Linked DNA regions of Homo sapiens: region 2 is linked to region 1. Evidence: promoter capture Hi-C in human tissues and cell types (Jung and others, 2019). All regions are on one chromosome and are shown on one strand. Each heading gives the region's core, a stretch centred on a gene start or on the middle of the fragment in contact. The rest is flanking DNA. Distances are from core to core; before and after follow the strand shown. Region 1 holds the start of DDX19B (DEAD-box helicase 19B). Region 2 overlaps ZNF23 (zinc finger protein 23).

The links. Contacts are between HindIII fragments. The study calls those that stand out against the background at their distance.
Region 2: a fragment that was not itself captured here is called in contact with the fragment with the promoter of DDX19B in region 1 in 1 of the 25 tissues and cell types used here (aorta).

What each region holds. Positions count from the first base shown.
Region 1 is chr16:70,297,478-70,300,955 of GRCh38, forward strand. It overlaps DDX19B (DEAD-box helicase 19B), which reads left to right and starts at 1,709. Exons shown (of 12, transcript NM_007242.7): 1 at 1,709-1,877. The coding sequence starts at 1,821. RefSeq lists enhancers at 1,529-1,823, 1,555-1,784. The HindIII fragment of the contact is 9,873 bases long and covers 873-3,478 here.
Region 2 is chr16:71,447,552-71,451,095 of GRCh38, forward strand. ZNF23 (zinc finger protein 23) reads right to left here. Exons shown (of 5, transcript NM_001381984.1): 5 at 46-2,334. The coding sequence ends at 542. Among named protein-coding and RNA genes, the nearest start is that of TLE7, 7.3 kb to the left of the region's middle. The HindIII fragment of the contact is 5,546 bases long and covers 1-3,544 here.

The sequences.
Region 1 (3,478 bases), core at 459-2,958:
GCTGGGATTACAGGTGTGAGCCATTGTGCCCGGCCTCATGGCTTGAAATTAACTTATTGTTGTATAATATTGGCAAAATGAAAGAGGTTGGGATTCATTTTTTTCAGATTGTAGGAAAATGCCTAGTTTCTTTCTAGGGAAGTAACAAGGGAAGAGAAGCTTCTTTGATTCTAGTTAGGAGAAAGCAGTTCTTTCATTTAATCCTTATTTTACAACTACTAAAAGCCCAAGATATTTCTTCCTATTTATTTATTTGTTTATGAGGCAGAGTCTTACTCTGTTGCGCAGACTAGAGTGCAGTGACACAAACACTGCTAACTGCAGCCTCAACCTCCTGGGCTCAAGTGATCCTCCCACCTCAGCCTCCCAAGTAGCTGGAACTGCAGGCATGTGCGACGACACCTGGCTAATTTTTAAATTTTTCTTGTGTAAGGATAAGGCCTCGCTATGTTGTTGTTTTCAAACTCCTGGATTCAAGCGATCCTCCCACCTCCACCTCCCAAAATGCTAGGATTACACATGTGAGCTACTGTGCCTGGCCAATCCTGGCACTTTGGGAGGTGGAGGTGGGAGGATCACTTGAGCTCAGGAGTTTGAGACCAGCCAGGACAACACAGCAAGATCTGTCTCTATCTTAAAAAAACAAAAGGCCGGGTGCAGTGGCTCACGCCTGTAATCCCAGCACTTTGGGAGGCCAAGGCAGGCGGATCACGAGGTCAGGAGATTGAGACCATCCTGGCCAACATGGTGAAACACCATCTCTATTAAAAATAGAAAAACTAGCTGGGCATGGTGGCGCATGCTTGTAATCCCAGCTACTTGGGAGGCTGAGGCAAGAGAATTTCTTGAACCCAGGAGGTGGAGGTTGCAGTGAGCCGAAATCGTGCCACTGCACTCCAGCCTGGGCGACAGAGCCAGACTCAATCTCAAAAAACAAACAAAAACCCAAGTGCTGAGATTACAGGCATGAGCCACCACACCTAGCTCTATTTAATTATTTTACTATTTTAATTTTATTTATTTTTTTCCTAGACAGAGTTTTGCTCTGTCACCCAGGCTGGAGTGCAGTGGCCCTGTCATGGCTCACTGCAGCCTAGACCTCCTGGGCTCAAGTGATCCTTCCGCCTCGGCCTCCAGAAGTGCTGGGATTACATGCATGAGCCACCGCACCGTCTGTTTTCTTCCTTTTTAACATTCTCCTGATTCTACAACGCTTACATAGGAGAGCTGCAATTCCTCCTCTTGGGGTACAAATTTATGAGTGCAGGTGCAGTTTTGTTACATGCCTAACAAGATTGCATAGTGGTCAAGTGGACTTTTAACCAAATGGGTTGTCAGGGCTGATTGCCAACATCTGGACATTTTAAATTACCAATCTGAAAAGGGAAACAGCTCTGTGCTTGTTTTGCATTTTGGTGACTATTGGTAATGGTTTTCTGTTTTGATATATTCAATCTGTTCAATCTGTATTAGTGCCTACTCTGCCACTGTGTTGGGCGGGAATCTGATTTTGTTCTTTGGTTGGAGATCCAAGTTAACCAGAGCTTAGGCATTTTAAGATAACTACCTCAGCTTGATAGGAAAGCTTGCTCTGCCCGGGGTTGAGGGGTACGGGTCTGAGGGCAACAGAATCGACAGCCTCAAGTGGGCAAAGGGTGGCCAAACAGGAGTGGCCTCCGACGTCACTGTGGCGCGCCGCTTCCGGTCTGCAGCCTTGTAGTGGGGCTGGAGCAGAGCCTGCCGCGAACCCCCGGAGCCCACGATCCCTCGTGCCATCCCTCGAATCCACCAGCACGAGCGTCCCACCCGCGCCTGGGACCATGGCCACTGACTCATGGGCCCTGGCGGTGGACGAGCAGGAAGCTGCGGCTGAGTCGGTGAGTTGGCTTCAGCCCTAAAAGGGTCAGGGGACTAGTTCTGGTCGGAGACTTGGTCCCTGGGAAAGAATGTTTCCCAGGTTGATTAGAGGCTGGATGGGGTGGCGGGGAGGATAGGGATGGAGCCTGGACCCTGAGCTGGCTTTGTTTACGCAGCCGCCTCCGCGTTACGTAAGCGCAGGTGAGTGCTCCTATCGGTAAAGCGCTCAGCTGCCTGTCTGTCTTCCTGGAACCAGGAAGAATCATAGATTGCACCCATCACCCTAGATTGTGTTTTGTTTGTTTTTAATTGAAATAGAGACATGGTCTTGCTAGGTTGCCCAGGCTAGTCTGGAACTCCTGGTCTCAAGCTATCTTCCTGCCTCGGCCTTTCAAAGCACCAGGATTACAGGCTGAGCCATTGTTCCTGGCCGCCCCGGTTTGTAATAGTTATTTTAGGTGTCATTCTCCACCTCTACATTCAGAGCTTCTTTGGCTCAGGGACCATGTCTTTGCTCATATTTGTGTGCTTCCTCAGTGATAAATGATGGACCCAGTAGGTGTGGCAGTCAGCAAATCCTTTCCTCATCGGCTTCACTTTGTTCTTTTTTTCTGGACCTGACACATGGTAAGCAAGAGATGTGTTAAACACTACTGCGTAGAATTAATTTCTCCCACCGAAACACTTTAAATCCTAGTAGGCTTTGAACCTACTTCTGTTAGTACTTATTGCTATGACTTCCTCAAGAATAAGAACCTTGTCTTTTATTTTTTATAGCTCATAAAAAATAAGTTGTATATACACATTGTTTAAAGAGTGAAGTTATTTTAAAAACAACGGTTCCCGCCAATTTTTTTCCTCCCCAGAGGCAACTCCTTTTTTTTTTTTGGAGACAGGGTCACACTCTGTTGCCCAGGCTAGGGTGCAGTGGAGTGATCTTGGCTCACTGCAGTCTCTGCCTCCCAGGCTCAAGCCATCCTCCCACCTCAGCCTCCTGAGTAACTGGGACTGTAGTCATGTGCCACTATGCCCAACTACTTTTTGTATTTTTTTTGTAGAGATGGGGACTTGCCATGTTGCCCAGGCTGGTCTCGAACTCCAGCGTGCAAGTGATCCACCTGCCTCAGCCTCCCAAAGTGCTGGGATTACAGGTGTGAGCCACTGCATCCAGCCTCTTTTTTCTGTTTCTTTCTTTCTTTACATATATTTTTTGAGAGAGGGTCTTGCCCTGTCACCCAGGCTGGAGTGCATTGACACCATCTCTTGCCAACTACAACCTCCCCTTCCCAGGCTCAAGTGATCCTCCCACCTCAGCTTCCTGAGTAACCGGGACTACAAGCATGTGCCAACATATGCAGCTAACTTTTTAATTTTTTGTGAAGACGAGGTCTCACTATATTACCCAGGTTGGTCTTGACCTGCTGGGCTCAAGCCATCCTCCCACCTCGGCCTCCCAAAGTGTTGGGATTATAGGCCTGAGCCACTTTGCCTGGCCCTTTACTTTTCTATAAAATTTATTTTACTTGGAATTCTTAATTGCCTTATGTTTATGCTTCATTTTTTTTTCTTAATTATCAATTCAACCCCAAACTGTCTTCCAGTTGTCTAAGTTTATCTCAGG
Region 2 (3,544 bases), core at 533-3,032, 1.2 Mb after region 1:
GAAAGGTTTTCTCAATTACATGAAAATTAAAAATGTACTCATACCTTTTTCCTTTTTTAAATAAATCTTTATTTTTCATCTTTTCAAAAGTAATACATGCTTGTTGTCAAAAATTAAACAAATAAATTAATGTAGGTAGAGTATCTTTAGTACGGGTTTTCCTATCCAACAACAAGGCTTCTCTCTCTCTCCATTTATTCAAATTTCCTTTGTAAAGTGGCCCTCAGTGAAGACTTAAATTTCTCCATACAAGTCCTCCATAACTGTTTATTTCTAGAAAATCTACTTTTCTTGATGCTGCTGGGAACGAAATCTTTTCATTATATTTTCTAATTCCTGTTGGTACAAAACAAAGCTATTTTTGGATGTTTCTCTTTAACTGGTCATCCTTTCCTGATTTAAACTGAATAGAATAAAAACTGTTTCCATATGAAGACTCTGCCATATTCATGCCCTCTTGGAGGTTTTTCAATGGATGAATCTGATGATACTTGATCCATTTTGGCATTAACCTTAAGAGTTTTCTATATCTTTCTCATTATTAGGATTTTCCTTCACTATGGACACTCTGATGCTGACTGAGCTGGAAGCTAAACCTGAATGCTTTCCCACACACACTACACATATAGGGTTTCTTCCAAGTGTGGACTGTCTGATGTATAATGTAGTCAGAACTAAAGCTGAAGCCTTTGCCACATTCCACACATCTGAAGGGTTTCTCCCCAGTGTGGCTTCTCTGATGCCGAATTAAATGGGCATTAACATGGAAGGCTTTTCCACACTCCTTACACTGAAAGGGTTTCTCTCCTGTATGGATTCTCTGGTGCACAATATAGTTAGAACTACAGCTGAATGCTTTCTCACATTCCATACATTTGAAAGGTTTCTCCCCAGTATGTATCCTCTGATGCCTAGTTAGTTTGGCATTGATACTGAAGGCTTTCCCACATTCCTTACATTGATAGGGCTTTTCTCCAGTATGGATTCGGTGATGATCAAGTAGGTTTCTTTTAGAAGTAAAGCATCTCCCACACTCATTACATTCAAAAGGTTTCTCCCCAGTGTGAATTCTCTGATGCCGCATTAGTTTCCCATTAACGCTGAAGGCCTTTCCACACTCATTACACTCATAGGGCTTCTCCCCAGTGTGAATTCTCAGATGCTGCCGAAATTGGGAGTTACATCTGAAGGCTTTCCCGCATTCATTACACTCATAGGGTTTCTCGCCTGTGTGAATTCTCTGGTGTTGGATTAACTTCCCTTTGACACTGAAGGCTTTTCCACATTCAGTGCATTCATAGGGTTTCTCACCTGTGTGGATTCTCTGATGCTGAATGAGTTTTGTATTATTATTGAAGCCTTTTCCACACTCTTTACACTGATAGGGCTTTTCTCCTGTGTGGATGCTCTGATGCTGCCTAAGCTGGGAGCTGCACCTGAAGCCTTTTCCACATTCATTACATTCATAAGGTTTCTCTCCAGTATGGATTCTCTGATGTTGAATTAATTTTGCATTAACATTGAACGCTTTCCCACAGTCATTACACTCGTAAGGTTTCTCTCCAGTGTGGACTCTCTGATGTGTAATATATGCAGAACTACAGCTGAAGCCATTTCCACATTCCTTGCACTGATAGGGCTTCTCTCCCGTATGGATTCTCTGATGCCTACTTAGGCTTCCATTAACACTGAAGGCCTTCCCACACATCTTACACTGATAGGGCTTCTCCCCACTGTGGATTGTCTGATGTGTGATATAATGGGAACTGTAGCTGAAGCTTTTCCCACACTCCACACATTTGAAGGGTTTCTCCCCACTGTGAAGTCTCTGATGCCAAATTAATTTCTCATTAATGCTGAAAGCTTTGCCACACTCCGAACACTGATAAGGCTTTTCCTCAGTGTTGTTCTCTTGATGTTGAATAAGTTGAGAGTCACACCTAAAGGGCTCTACTAATTCTTCACATTTGAAAGGTCTTTCCTCAGAATTAATTATTTCATGCTTCACGAGTTTTGTATCAAAGCTGATGGATTTCCCCAATCCTGTACACCCAGAGGGCTGCTCTCCAGTGATGGTATGACACTGATATGAGTTTGAACTTTGACTAAAAAAACACTCCTCCACGGGGCTTGTCTCATCTTTCACTGTTCCATCAATGGTGTTGCTCTTCTCCTTCTTTATATTTCCTGCTGAGTGGACTTCCTGTTGTTTCTCTAGAAGAGAGGCTTCTGAAAAGTCTGTTTCCTGGGAAAAGTCTCTTTGAAGTTCAAATGATACATTCTCTTTTCCTTCATACATTTCCTTTGTCAAATCATTGTCAGTCTGAATATCTACTATAAAAAACAGAAAACATAAAATGTCATGTAAGAACCATGTTAGGAAAAAGAAGAGAACTGTGCTATAAAAGACCATAATAATCAGGGGGCTCCTTAAAATCACCAGACTAGGTCAAAAAACATAGGGTTTCTCCATAAGGTGGGATAAGTAATTTGTAACTAACTAGTAAAAGAATACAATAAATCCATATATGCTGACGTAAAAAGACATCCAAGATACAATCAAATGGAAAAACAAGTTGAAAAAACAGTATATAGAATAGATTTTCAGCTGTGTAAAGAAAAATATAAAAGACAGATATATATATTTGTACATACCTAGAAAACTTCTAGAAGAATCCATAAGAAACTAAATAAACTGGCATAGGAAGTTTAGTGGACTTGCTTCCCTACTTTATACACTTTCTGTACTGTTGAATAGGTGTCAATATTATGAAAGTAATGAAAAGCAATGAAAGTAATGATAAAAAAAAAATCACCATTCCCACTGTGCCTAATACAAGGCCACTGTAGAGAACATAACCAATCACATGAAGGTTAAAAGTGACAGCTGGGCACGGTAGCTCACACCTGTAATCCCAACACTTTGGGAGGCTGAAGCAGGCAGATTGCCTGAGCTTGGGAGTTTGCAACCAGCCTGGGCAACACAGTGAAACCCCGTCTCTACTAAACCACAAAAAATTAGCCGGGTGTGGTGGTACGTGCCTGTAGTTCCAGCTACTCGGGAGGATGAGGCAGGAGAATTGCTCGAACCCGGGAAACGGAAGTTGCGGTGAGCCAAGTTCTTGCCACTGCACTCCAGTTTGGGCGACAGAGCGAGACTCCATCTCAAAAAAAAAAAAAAGTGACAGTAGTGGAATAAAATTCTAGGTCTTGTCCACCAGCTCAGCATTCTTTTAATCACACCATGCTTTTCTACACCCTGCAGTTTCTTCTTAGTTGTTCCTATAGCACTCAGTTCCTTACTTAAAAAAAAATGGAAAATGCTGAAGAAGGAAAAGGCACAGGATCCAACAGAATATGGCAACTTGGAAGATGACAACAGTCAGCAGCACCAGGGAGCAAAATGGAAATAATTTTGTTTCTTTCCTTAGAACATTAACTGTGGGCTTTCCAAAATTTGTCCTTCAACTTCATTTCTACTTTAGACAGGCTCTATTTGAGGTCCATCTCATCCCCTTTCTTCCCATTCCCCTCCAAATACTGC